3 separate regions of the Homo sapiens genome follow, and all the other regions are linked to region 1. The links are contacts of gene promoters, found by promoter capture Hi-C in blood cells and fetal thymus (Javierre and others, 2016). All regions are on one chromosome and are shown on one strand. Each heading gives the region's core, a stretch centred on a gene start or on the middle of the fragment in contact. The rest is flanking DNA. Distances are from core to core; before and after follow the strand shown.

Evidence for each region. The method cuts DNA at HindIII sites, captures the fragments that hold promoters and counts their contacts. A CHiCAGO score of 5 or more calls a contact.
Region 2: a fragment that was not itself captured here is called in contact with the fragment with the promoter of ZNF445 in region 1 in 4 of 17 cell types (naive CD4 T cells, total CD8 T cells, activated CD4 T cells and 1 more); the score reaches 7.4 in naive CD4 T cells.
Region 3: a fragment that was not itself captured here is called in contact with the fragment with the promoter of ZNF445 in region 1 in 4 of 17 cell types (total B cells, naive B cells, naive CD8 T cells and 1 more); the score reaches 6.3 in total B cells.

Annotation. Positions count from the first base shown.
Region 1 is chr3:44,475,182-44,479,845 of GRCh38, reverse strand. ZNF445 (zinc finger protein 445) reads left to right here and starts at 2,176. Exons shown (of 8, transcript NM_181489.6): 1 at 2,176-2,255. LOC101928529 (a long non-coding RNA gene) reads right to left here and starts at 2,156. Exons shown (of 4, transcript XR_940785.4): 1 at 1,637-2,156; 2 at 1,177-1,264. RefSeq lists silencers at 2,199-2,358, 2,379-2,428. The HindIII fragment of the contact is 9,006 bases long and covers 1-4,664 here.
Region 2 is chr3:44,968,506-44,973,169 of GRCh38, reverse strand. The region is part of intron 1 of ZDHHC3 (zDHHC palmitoyltransferase 3); the gene reads left to right. Among named protein-coding and RNA genes, the nearest start is that of ZDHHC3, 5.3 kb to the left of the region's middle. The HindIII fragment of the contact is 1,139 bases long and covers 1,416-2,554 here.
Region 3 is chr3:44,910,462-44,915,125 of GRCh38, reverse strand. TGM4 (transglutaminase 4) reads right to left here. Exons shown (of 14, transcript NM_003241.4): 12 at 3,999-4,168; 13 at 3,720-3,856; 14 at 136-1,542. The coding sequence ends at 1,401. Among named protein-coding and RNA genes, the nearest start is that of TGM4, 38 kb to the right of the region's middle. The HindIII fragment of the contact is 3,807 bases long and covers 555-4,361 here.

The DNA.
Region 1 (4,664 bases), core at 927-3,426:
AATCTAGGCTTGTCAGTGTCTCACCCACAAAGATTTGGATTGAATTGATATGAGGTATGGACTTTTTAAAAGCTCTGAGGAGGATTCTAATCTGCAGCAAAGTTAAGAACCACTGATTTACATGCACAGTTCTTTGCTTCTCCAAGTGTGGTCCAAGAACTGCAATATGGGTACACCTGGAAGTTTGTTAAAAATATTCGTTGGTCCCTCCCCAGACCTCCTGAATTTGAATCTACAGTTTAACCAGATCCCAAGTGATTTGTATTCATATGCACATGAGAATTTGAGAATCTTACCTAGGGCTTTTACTAAGCAAACTGCCCCGATCTGAAAGAGTACAGTGCTCAGGAAGTACAGCTAGCAAGAATATGCCTCCTACCAGAAAAGTGAAGAAACCTCATGGTTATAGGCTCGAGTGCTGTGGCACTCGGAGAAATCAGGTATTAGCAGAACTTCGAGATTCAAGAAGCTGTATAGGTCTTAAAATCAGAGCTGCACTCCCAGTGGCTGCTTCCCGAACTTTGCAAGTGCTGGTGAAGCCAATTTGGTTGATCTGTTTGATCACACTAAATGTGGGTGCTATCCATGCTAACCACCTATCACGTTGAAAAACATCCAGTAAGTACATCCCAAACACAGAGAACCTGCTCAAACTCTTCTACGATGGGAAAATTTTGTTCTCAAACAAAACTTGAAAACTCTTCTCACCACTATGGGTGGTTCTGAGTCACTCAAGAACATTATATCGAGTGGAAATTAATGGACAAATTAGGCATTGACAAGCAGTTTCTATTTTCCTTTTTGTATGTGTTGGATATTTTCCAATTGCCCCTCCATATTCAGTCTCAGTCCTCAACCCTGCTGTGACACTTGGGAGACTGAGTTTCCTGGATTGCCCTCTGGCTTCCAGTTGAGTTGGGCCAATGGGAAGCCCTGGCAGGAGATCAGAAGAGAGCTGGGTTCAGGTTATTTATTACCTCAGCTTCCTTTGTGCTGGACTATGGCTTGGATGTAGCCCTCAACTGAAAGCCACAGTTTCTCTCAGATGGCCTGCTCCTAGGGGTGAGAATAGCTTCTAAATTTTGCTAGCCATGGGATTCTGCACCACTCCGTGTTGCATTTCCTTAACCCTGTCCACTTTGTGTAAATCGCCCCTTGTGAACTCTCCCCACTTACCTTGTTTGAATGTGCCATCTGTTTCTCTATCACCTTGTCACCATCTTCCTGGTGTTCAGGATCTATTCTCTGTTTCCATCTTTGGTGACTGGGGCATTAAAAAGGGGTGGATCAGATGAGTAAAGCAAAGCCTCAGGGCACAGATGGGCATCATCAATGCCCATCTGAAAGATCAATCGTCAACATGTTGCAGCCTGCCACTAGGAAGCACAAACCAGAGGACTACCAGGACAGCAGCTTGTAGCATGCCCTCCAATGGCAGCAGATGGCCTTATGGCTTTGGCTGTGCACCCTCAAGGTTCTCTGGCACTGGCAATAGATGACATTTGCTCCTACAGGGGGTGGGCAACCTCTCCAGGTTGCTTCACCTCCTCTTCAAGCAGCCCCTCCACCCCCTACCCCCAACCTACTCCTCCCAGATTCCACATATTATTGGGCAATGGCATCATTGTTCACTCACCAGGCGAGCCTAGTTAGAATTCACCCACAGGAGAAAACGAGTGAAGGCCGTGGGAAGCTAAAGTATGGTGCACCTCTGAGCTGGCTATGAACAAGTATTCCTGGGTATGGTGATGATGGGGATGAGCTCGTCTTGGAAAGGCAGGAGTTCTGGCACCTAGCTTCCCGTAGGATCTGGTTCCCCTCTTTGAAGTGTACCCAGGCGAAGAATGAGTGGCTCCCTTAACCCCTTCTCCTGGCCAGGACCAGTCTGCTAGATACTGCTGGCCCTATTTTCACCCCTAGCTTTGGATCCCTTTCTTCCCTGGAGGGAAAGAGGCCTTCAGGGCAGCCCCGCAGACACGACAGGAGGGATGCAAGAAAACAGGCGCGGCTGGGCATCCGAGCGTGGAAGGGAAATGTCCAACTGAGGGAGGTGAGGGATGTTGGACAAGCCCCGCCGCCCGCCGCACCGGAGCCGGAGAGAAGCAGAGACGTTGGGCCTCCCAGTTTCCTAGAGAGGCCGCGGAGGGCCCCGGGCGCCGACGCGCGTGCGCGACTGGAGCCGCCGGGAGGTAGGCGCGGGACGGGCGGCTGCGGTGGCGGCGGGTGGACCGATTGTCGCTCGGCGGCGGGAGTCGGTGAGAGGCCTGGCGGGGCGCGGGGGTGGGGGTGGCGGCATTGCGGGCGCGGGGCTCCCCGAAGTCCGCGGCATTCTCGGGCCTGCCCGGGCGGCGGACGGGGCCCGGCCTGGAGGCTGCGCCCGTGGCGGGGGTCTGGCGGTGGATCCCGCCCCCGCCACGCTGAGGGCGTATCTAGAACCTCTTTGCCTCCCAGGCGTCCGGGGTAGAGAATCTGGAGCCCGGGTTTCTCCGGGCTTTCTCGTTTCATCCAATTCTGCATATAAAGCGTATTTATCAGAGACAATTAGATAACACGGGAAAGTAGAAGAAAAGTAAAAGTAGCCGCAATCCTGAAATCTGTCTCCAGGCCTCCTGACATTTAAAATATCTGTGCATAATTCTGCACACTGACATCCATAAATATATATTACGAAATGAGAGCGTGCTCTTGCTTTTTAAAAAACCTGTTAGTATTATTGTGAGGAAACAATATTGTGCCAAAATAACACATAACATTTACCATACAATACATAAACGTTTACCATTTAACCATTTGGAAGTGTGTAATTCAGTGACATTAAGTATATCCATACTACTGCTTTTTAAAAATTATAATCTCCTGAATTTGTAGAATGCATTTGTTCTTATTTTGGCTAAAATTAGTGCTGGCATTATGACACCACTAAAACATTTTTTTTTTGGCGAGGATAATTAAGAAATCGTGTTTGCAGTTTATTTTCTGTAGGAGACACATTTGCATGAAGCTCTAAATGGTGAAGTGACATTTGTGCAGAAAAATAGCAAAATCTTGTTTGTCAGGGTGGTTATCTTTCACAATGAAGTAACTAGTATATAAAATGCAGTTTTTAAACAAAGGCAGAGCTCTAACCTGCAGCGATTGTAGCACACTCTGACTTGCACAGGCCTAAGAGATCAGAGTATTGTCTCCTTCCGAATTTAAAAGTGGTGGCCAGGAAAGAATGTTATTCTGTTTCAAACGGCTTGTAGTGCAAAACTAAAAACTCAGTATTAGGTTGGTTGTTTTGCAAGGAAGTGCCAGGGAGTGGTTTGAGCAGTAATTTGATTAAGCAGTTTCAGAGAGCCTCCATGTGTTGTGTGTGTGTCTGCGTGTGTGTGTGTGCATGCATGTGTGTGCATATTCAGGGACCAAAGAATTAGGCTGCTCTTTTATGTTATCTTAATGAAAGGCAGACACATTTTGGTTAGAAAAAAAAAAAAGTCTTACTGTAAGCCGAAAAGATGAGAATGTTTTGAAGATAAACCTCAGTATGCACTTAAAAAGGAAACTGACAAAAAGCATGAAAAATGGCAAGTATTCCACCGCTAGGTTTTCTCTGGCTTCCGGTATCCAGGAAGAATTAGTGCATAAGCAGTCTACGATGTCAGAGAGTAAACTATAGTAAAACATAACACTGTATTTTGCAATTTTCAAGATTTTGTATTAGAAACAATGTGAAAGAGTACATTTCTGTGACTCTCAGGCGAATTGTTAGGTGTTCTGTAAGATTGAATTTATGAATTTCTTTTTTTCCTTCCTATTCTTAAATTTATTTTCTTTTTCCTTGTTTATTTTATTTATTTTATTTTTGAGACGGAGTTTCACTCTTGTTGCCCAGGCTGGAGTGCAGTGGTGCAAACTCGGCTCACTGCAGCCTCCGCCTCCTGGGTTCAAGTGATTCTCCTGCCTCAGCCTCCCAAGTAGCTGGGATTACAGGTGTGTGCCACCACGCCCAGCTAATTTTTGTATTTTAAGTAAAGACGGGGTTTCACCGTATTGGTCAGGCTGGTCTCGAACTCCCGACCTCAGGTGATCTGCCTGCCTCAGCCTCCCAAAATGCTGGGATTACAGGCGTGAGCCACCGTGCCCGCCTCTTGTTTTATATTACTATGTAGCAGCTGTCACTGTTTAGCATACCACGAATCTGTCTCCTCATAGACGCCTCAAGGCAGTACTGGAACATACAGTAGGTTCTCAATAAATATATGACAAATTAATGAAAGAAGGAATCCAAATTGGTAGATAAAAATTGACAGTATTAAATGTCCTCGATTTTTAAGAGCCACTTACCAAGTTAATCTTTAATACCTGGCTGAGCATGGTGGCTCATGCCTGTAATCCCAGCACTTTGGGAGGCTGAGGTGGGTGGGTCACCTGAGGTCAGGAGTTCAAGACCAGCCTGGCCAGCATGGTGAAACCCCATCTCTACTAAAAATACAAAAAATTAGCTGGGCATGGTGGCGGGCACCTGTAATCCCAGCTACTTGGGAGGCTGAGGCAGGAGAATTGCTTGAACCCAGGAGGCGGAGGTTGCAGTGAGTGGAGGTCACGCCATCGTACTCCAGCCTGGGCAACAAGAGTGAAACTCCGTCTCAAAAAAACAAAACAAAACCTGTAATACCTAAAAT
Region 2 (4,664 bases), core at 736-3,235, 490 kb before region 1:
TATATAGTTAATCTTAATTCCAAAAGCAAGAAGTCTGTTCAAGCATAAACTCATATCCCTTGAATCATTTTTCTAGAGGAACATGGAATGTGGTGCTGATGGGATGTTGCTGTGTCTGTTGCAACCCAATATTTTAAACAAGGTAAAAGGTTATATATGAGCAGAATAAGAGCTTAACTCCAAGTAGCTAAGGAGAGAGCCCTCAATGGCAAAGATGGCTGATAGATCTGGTACTAGGGTTGAGTAGCATGCATGGAGACCCAGATTCCAACCGTATGCCATACTCAGATATCTAGAAACTCCAGACAGTGTGTTTGCATGCCTGTGAGTCCCTGGTGTTCTTATGGGCATAAAGAGATAAACTCAAAACACAACACCTGCCTAAAAGTAGTTTAGAATTTATTATAGTGGGGGAGCCCAGGACCTCGAACTACTGCATGAACAAGACAATAAAATAAAGTGCTCAATTGAGACGTGGCAATTAGAAGAGAGGCCAGCCTATAATAAGGTGCTAATTGTGCAGGCCAGGTATCAAATACAAAAGGTAAAGAGCTGCTGCTAGCCACAAGCCGGCAACAATAACATGACAGAGATGGAGTAACTCTGTCCCACCCATCCTTGGTTAATTAAACCAATAAAAGCCAGTTACAAAAGAGCTTCAGGGCAATGCTGAGTCTGTGGTGCTGATGTTGCAGAGAGCTTTTTTGGAGACAGAGTCTTGCTCTGTTGTCTAGGCTGGAGTGCGGTGGCACAATCTCTGCTCACCGCAACCTCCGCCTCCTGGGTTCAAGCAATTCTTGTGCCTCAGCCTCCCGAGTAGCTGGGATTACAAGTGTGTGCCACCACTCCCGGCTAATTTTTGTATTTTTGGTAGAGACTGGGTTTGGCCATGTTGGTCAGGCTGGTCTCGAACTCCTGGCCTCAAGAGATCTGCCTGCCTTGGCCTCCCAAAGTGCTGTGATTATGGGCATGAGCCACCATGCCCAGCCATAGAGAGCTCTTAAAAGCCCAGCAGGAAACCTTCTGTTCCCAGTCCTAAGCAGACATGGCCATGTTTTAGGCCTTTTCCTTTGCATTTTCACCATTAGCCCAGCACCCTTGAAATGTACAAAGTCAGTTACCGTTTTGCCTGTAGATCTGTTTCCTTTAAACACTTTGCATTTGTCCCGCCTGTACCTTGTCTTAAAAGAATGAGGTGGGAGGATCCCTTAAGCCCCGGAGTTTGAGTCCAGCCTGGGCAACATAGACCCCATCGCTAAAAAATAATAAAATAAGTAATAAAATAATGATAGAAATGAAGAATATCTGTAAAGAATACTGTCATAGTCTGGCCAGCAGGTCTTCATCTGTCTTCTAGACATTGTAACTTGAGATTACAGTGATAGAAAAATTGCTAGTAATACATGGGTAAAGCTTACTCTTAATTAGAGGAAAAGTTATACAGTCTTCATGTGTGTTTCATTTTGGGAGAGTGACAGCATGTTTCCTATGTCTCATTAGGGCATATTTGAGAAAAGGGGGTAACAGATCCTGCTTACCAAATGTAGAAATATTTAAACACACACACCCTGATAGCCATGGAAAGTAACAAAGTCTCAAGTAGAAGTGGAGGGGTGATGTCTCAGTGTTGACCTGTTGGGGAAAAAATGAGGCTCATGCCATGCTGCCTTTAGTTCCTTCCTGTTTTGCATTTTAAAAAATCATTTGCTTTCCTCCTCGGAAGCAGATTTCCAGAGACAAATGGCCAGTTCATTCATGGCTGTCAACTGTGAAGGTGAGAAGGCTCCAGGTGCATGTCCCACTTAATTCAGTCATACATCCTAATACATTTGGAATGCATGGGAAATGTCATCATTTCATAGTCTCCTCCAAACCATAGACTTCGTAGTATGTATTGACTTGGCACTTGAACTCTTGGCAAGATATGAATATGTATTTCCTATTCAAGGTCAGTGGAGATGCAATGCCTTTGAGTGAGATCACTTTCTTACCTTAGCAAGGTAAGCCTAATGAGACAAGTACAGTTCTGGCCACAGTCCTGTTGCAGTAAAGTCTTCAGTATGTGAAGTGTATGTTTCTAAACCAAGAAATAGTAGCAGAGAATCTAGAAAGACAGGTTGTTTAGGAAGATAACAATCTATGGTAGAAAGACTTCCGGGCATCTTAGTCCAAAGATTTGGGCTTTGCTATTAACTTGCTTTATGACTTTGAACAAGTCAGTTAACCTAAGTCTCATTTTGCCCTCAAGTGAGTATCTTGCCAGGTTTTTAAACTCAGAATGGATCCTGGATATGCAAATATTTGAATATTGAAAAATGACCATGTTTAAATTGGGGTTTTTAAGACTTCTTTCATTTACCACTTCATTATACTTGATATATTTTGCTAGTGCTTTTTCCACTCTGAAAAAAATTAAATGAACAAAAGGAAGTCGTAATTTTATGCTGTACTTGATTGAAAAAACTAAACATGCTCAGGAAATTGCTAAGAGAGATAGTTACTAGTGGGCTTCTTTTTGAATATTAGCAAATCGGGAAAAGAGGTAAGTGAAGCTTTTGGTAAAAAAATGTAAAATCCAAGATATTAACAAAGAAAACGTTGAATTTGCTCCTGAGAACAGAGGACTCATAGAATCTCAGCCCTGCAAGGGGCCCTAGCAATCAGCGTGATCTTCCCCTTTGTTTTATCAAATGAGGAAACTGAGGCCCAGAATGGTAACTGTCTTGCCTGAGATCATGAGGTTAGCGAGTGGCAGGATTGGGAGTAAACTCTGGCCTCTTGATTCCAAGCTCAGTCTTCATTCCCTTTAGCACTAGCCTCCCATCTATTTCCAAAGCCCTCTGGTGAATGGCTGGAGAGCCCCTCACCAGGTAAGCAGGGGCTGTGTTCTCTTTCTCACAGCCCATTACAGCCTTCTTTCTGTGGTCCCAGGTTCCTCCCAGGGCTCTGCTCTTGCACTGCCACTTACAGTGCCTGGAATAAGTGATACCAGCAGATTCCTGAAAGTCAAATGGCTCCCCTTTTTAGGCCCTAGTACCTAGTACAGTTGCAATAACTGGTTCTCTCCCTTCCCTAGCTAGTCTTTCGGATTTCTCTAAGCACTTTTGCTTTTAGTCCCTAAAAACAACCAAGCTCTGGCCTAGCCTAAGTGATGTCACAGTGGCTGTGTGGCTGCACATGACACAATGTGGGCCCAGGTGTCATTCTCAACATCCTCAGGTGGGAACCTTTGCTGATAGGTCTCTGCCTAGCATGGGGGGAGGCGTTTTTTCTCACAAAAAGCAGCATTCTGTTACTTGGCACCACAGGAAGTATTTCCCAGCCAAAGCAGATTTTAGGGATTCAATCCTAGGTGACTCTTCTGGCTGAGGCTTCACGGCCTTCCTGCCTCCTAGGTTAGGGCAGGATCGGTATTCTAAATGTTGGCTGGTATTCAGCCAGGGCCCCACCTTAGAGCCCAAAATGCTTATGTTCAGGCCTGTGGCCTGTGAGCACCACTGCATGCAGCCCACTCGATAATGCCACCTCTGCATAACCATGTGTGGACAAGATAGCCAAACCGTAAGTAACCCAAGGTCACTGATGGAAACATCAATACTCCTCCCCCTTTTATTTTCTAGTTACTAGACAAAATTTAATTATTGTAGTAAGTAGTGAAAAGCAAGCCCTGGGGCAAGAGCAGACTTTGGGAGTATATCCTGTCTCCACCACTTCCTGGAAGTATGGTTGTAGGCATGCTTCAGTTTTCTCGTTTCTAAAAGCAGGATGGGGAAGTGGGCATTTATATGTGCAAAATAGAGTAGATGTGAGAATCAAACAGGAAGAGGCATGTGTAGCAAGCAGCCCAGTGCCCTGATGGAGGCAGTGGTGACACCTTAAGTGAGGGTCAGGAAAGAATCAGGGCCCCACCCTACATTCAGCATATCCCACACTTTGGCAACAATCAAGCAGAACTGGAGCCTACCCTCACAGAGGCCAGAAGGCAGTTCATTGTCAAATGAGATCATGCACTGGATTACAAGGGGTTCACAAACTATGAGAGTATCACCGTCATCGGCAAGTGTTCATTGGGTAGCTGGAGCAGTCATTTATTGTTGCCTTTATGAAGATGCTCCTGCTGGCTTACAAACTTCCTGCAAGGAGAAGTTAATGCAGGGAGATGGCAGCGTAGCAATTAAACAGATTGTAGTAGTTACCATCCATTAGACCTAGAAAACAAGTTAGCCACCTCCCTGTGAAGATCCACTGACTCCTTGAGCTTCACTTCCTTACTCATCTGTAAAACAGAGTGGACCACAATTTGGAAGCAGGGCGGGTAGTTCTCACAGTCTCTTTACAAGCAGCTATGTTTTTGAGGGCCCAAGTCTGATTGAGGTAACCCAATGAGTGTCATGCTCCATTAATGAGACAGGTGCCAGAAGGGGCTCATAGAAGAAGGAATGCTCAATTTTTATTTATTCATTAGTTAGTTTGTTTGACAGGGTCACACTCTGTCACCCAAGCTGGAGTGCAGTGGTGCAATCTTATCTCACTGCAGCCTCAACCTTCTGGGCTCAGGCGATCCTCCTATCTCAGCTTCCCAAGTAGCTGGGACTATAAGCACACACTACCATGCTCGGCTAATTGTTTAAGATTTTTGTAGAGATGAGGTCTCGCTATATTGC
Region 3 (4,664 bases), core at 1,209-3,708, 430 kb before region 1:
GTCATACGGCACCACACAGTGGCCGTGCCGGGCTATATCACCTCTTGGGATCGGACACTGTGCTGTGGAGTGACTGACCAAACTCTTGTTTGTGTCACCACCCTTGTGGTATTTCCAGCAGAAGGAACAGTCACCTTTCCTTCAATAAACATTTATTGAACACCTACTGTATGCCAGGGATGTGGGCAACTTGGGCAAGGGTGACCAGGATTGAGGTTTTTTTCACTTGGACAGCTGGAAAGGCAGAGGATGACAGGTATCCCACCCATGACTCTCCTGTGAATTAGACACAAAATAACCCTCATTCAAGCTACGTGCCTTTGCCAGGGTGTGTATCCAGTTGGGGTGACAGCCTTTGAGAGAGGGGTTGGATGTACTGAACAGACAATAAAGAAGCCAACTCCTCAGAGCACCTTGCCTGGGGAGATCAAAGGATTCCATGGCTCCCCAAGTGACTGCATAAACCGCCAGCACATTTAAGAAGCTTATTGGCATAAAGAAAAAAGGACTCAGGGACCACAGAGTTTTCTTGAAGTAGAGTTTAATTTAAAGCTTATTGATCATTTGAGCAAATCTCTGGAGGGCAGAACAAGAAGGAGCAGGCTTCAGTTAACAGAAGCAGCCTTGAGTTGCCAGGATAGTGGATGGAATACCAAAGAAAGAGTTCACACCAGGGAGGAAGCAATGCCTTCTCCCTGGAGTCTCCCAAGGGGCAGCTTTAGAATAAGGGAAGAGGATTTGCTGGTCACCGTTTGCTGACATGGGTCTCTATGGTGAGTTCAGGCCTGAGGACAGGGTTGTCTGCAAAACCACATGGCCCTTGAGAAATGTCCTTGCAGATTGGGCTTCAAACTGCTTGGAGCACCAGGAGAGGGACTTCCTGGATTTCAGGGATAGAGAGAGGAGAATGGAGGCAATAGGAGGAGAATGCACTTCTATCAGGCCCATCCCAGTGCTGAGAGAGCACTCCAGTTGACAGGTGCCTTCAGGGCTGGTGAACCCATGGCCTGAAGATATGGCAGCTTCTCAAGGGTCGTCAGCAGGTGGCAGCACTGGGCTGCCCATAGTCTGCTGCTCCAGGGAGAGACTCTGTGGCTTCGAAATCTATGGATTTGAATTGAGACAATGGTGGCCCTGATTTTTGAGGCCATGACTCAGGAAAGGGATGGGATTCTGTGGCCTCGGCTGGTGTTTCTAACTGTAAAAGAGGTGACCCTGTGATAGCACAGGACCTGGCCTTGTGGGTCTGGCTGCTTATGGTTGTGTTGGCCTTTTTGACCTGCTGGCTCTTGAATCTGCCCTCATATAAGTCATCAAATTTAATCATCCATAATCTGAAAGCTAAGCACAAGGTAGGAAATGCTGAAATCTCAACTAAGGCTCCACAGCATCAGACAAGGCTACTTGGTGATGAGAACAATCTTCTGAGCATTAATCTCTTTCACTTGTTTGGAACTTAACTTGACGATAAATTTCTTGGGTCCAGTTTTTATTGGGGTGCATTTTATTTGGGATTGGATGGTCTCACCAGGCTGCACCGTCCTGGAAAATTCAAAGACATACGGACATACAATCAGCCAAGGATGTTATGGGAAGAGGGAGAAGATGAGTTGGGTGAGAAGCCAGGAAACTGAGCCTTAGCTCAGCCTCTTTGAAAAGTCCTGGCCATTCCAGGGCATGGCACAGTGTACCTGCACCCTGGGTGCTGCTATCAGTTTTCTCAGATGTAAAGCAAGACGGGTGAACCAGCTGGTTTCCAGAAGCTCTTCCAACTCTGACATTTCACAAATCTTCCCTGGAGTCTTGCCTGACTTTACTACAGATGTTCTTGTTTCATGAGTATTAGCAACAGTCATCTATTACATAAAATCTAAGAGGAACATGTATTTTATGTTGAATCCACATGCAAGGAATTGGCTAGCCCCTCACTACTCAAAGTGTGTTCTGGGGCTTCGCAATACTAGCTGAGCTTGTAGGAAACACAGAATCTGAGGCTCCACCCTAAACCTGCTGAATCAGAATCTACACTGTAACAATACTCCCCAGGTAATTTGTGTGCACATTAAAATGTGATAAATCGTGGTCTAAGGAAAATAGGAGTCTACTCATTTTTACTTGGAAGATTCAGACATCCTGTAAGAAACAGACCATCAGAAACCTCTCAGAAACAAAACATTAGAGTTCAGTAAAGTTTTTTGCTGGATATATCAGCATGCCAAAAATCAATTTCCATATAGTCCAGCAAACAATTAGAAAATACAATGAAAAATATTCCATTCATAAAAGCTATAATATTGATGCATCTTGGAATTAACCCAACTAATAACGTGCAAGTGGTATATAAAGAAAACAATATAGCTTTTCTAAAGGTGATAAAAAAGACTGGAAAAAAATGGGAAAATCTCATATTCCTAGATGGCAAGACACAATATTGTCATTTGGCATAATTCTCCCCCAAATAAATAGGTAAATTCAATGCAGTATCAATCTAAATCCCAGCTGTTTTAAAATTATATGACAAGATGATTCTAAAAGTGCTATAGACAAAAATGGGGGTGGGGTGGGGATTTGCCTAATACATATCAATATGTAGATATGATAATCATATAAAATTATTATAGGACTACAATAATTTAAGTGGTATGATGTTATATTAGAAGAAGACAAATGAAATAGCAAATTAAAGAGTCCAGAGACCCAGATATATATGGGAATTGACAGCATAATAAAGGCAGTGCTACAAAGTACTAGGAAAACCACAGACAAAGTTGGAGCTCCACATCACTCCACACCCAAAAAAAATTCCAGATAAATACCTAATTGTGTAAATAAAGCTGGAAATTCTAGAAAAAGCATAAGAGAATATTTCTATGCACCTAGGATGACATGAAATTCAGTATCCGTAAAGGAAAAGATTGAAAAATTTGACTACATTAAAATTTAAAAGTTCTACTGGTGAAAGACATCTTAGTGTTTAAAAAAATACAAACTGTTCGGCCGGGCATGATGGCCCATGCCTGTAATCCCAGCACTTTGGGAGGCCAAGGCGGGCAGATCACCTGAGGTCAGGAGTTCAAGACCAGGCTGGCCAATATGGGGAAACCCCGTTTCTACTAAAAATACAAAAATTAGCCGGGTGTGGTGGCATATGCCTGTAATCCCAGCTACTCAGGAGGCCAAGGCAGGAGAATCACTTGAACCTGGGGACGGATGGAGATTGCAGTGAGCCAAGATCGTGTCACTGCACTCCAGCCTGGGCAACAAAGTGAGACTCCACCTCAAAATAAATAAGAATCAAATTTAAAAAATTGAATACAAAACTGCTATAAAAAAATTCACAGCACATAACACTCTACTGTGTAAAGACACCATACCAATATGAAAAAATAAATGACTCAGTAGAAAAATGGACAAAAGTTAGGAACAGGCAATTCACAGGAGAGAGTCAATTAATGTAAGAAATATTCAACCTCACAAATAATCAGATGCAAAGTAAAGCAATGAGATTACTTAACCACTAGATTGGCAAGAATCAAAAAGATCTGTCGGTAGAGCATAAATTGATGCAATCTTTTCTCAAAGTAATTTGGCACTAGCAAAATGTATCTACATTTTGACCCTGTGACCCCATACTGGGAATTCACTTCTCAGGAATATGCACACATGTGCAAGATATATGTCCAGAAGCATATTTCTAAGAATACCTCAGGCAGACTCACCCATGGTCAGAGGTCTGTAGTGAGGAGATGCCCAGGCTTTCCAAAGAGAACTTGACGTCAGTCAAAGGGATGGCCAGGGTATTCTTGAAGATACAATTGCAGACAAGTAGCTGGCCAATTCTGCCTGTGTTAGGCAACTGTAGTAGGGTGGGGAGGAGAGATGGGGAGAGAAGATATGCATGAGCCAACCAAGGACCCTCAGGGTTCTTAGGGGCCCCGTCACACTCCATGGCCAACTTCCAGGCAGAAGGAGCCCTTTATGGCCTGCAGGAAGCTCACCTCTATAGAGAACTCAGGGTACTGGAAAGACGTGAATACTTCAGAGGCCATGATTTCCTTAGACTCCACAATTTCCGCAATGATGAAACCTCTGATAACTGGCTCATCATCTAATATAGCCAGGCTGTTGATGTAGGTCTTGGAGTCCAAGGTCAGAGTCACTTCTGATACTGCCAAAGAGTCAGGGTGGAGGGGAGAGGTCATTCATCATACCCCCCCAGTATGAGTTCTCCTCATCAAGCACAGAATTAGATTAACTTTGTGTGAATTGAACTGGATAACTTTGGACATGTCCCATACTCTCTTTAGAAAACAAGACGTTGGGCTCAAGATGGAATAATAATTGGCCAAGTTCTCCAAGCTTACATCCTGAGTCCATGACAGACATTACCCGTTGTCATCAGGACATCCCACTTGTTCCCAACACTGTGCCTTGGGTACTCATAATCATTGATCTGACTGGGCATCTGAGATTAAAATTTCTGCCACCATAGAAGACTTCTCATGACACTTTCAGCACCCCTAATTTATAACTCTACGATAGACCCAGGCTCCTAGTCCAGTGGTCTCTTTGGCTCACTTTTCTTCTGTGGCTGGCTTTCTTGTGACTACCAAGGGGTAGGTGCTCAATAAATGTTTGTGTTAACTCACACACAAAAATTTATC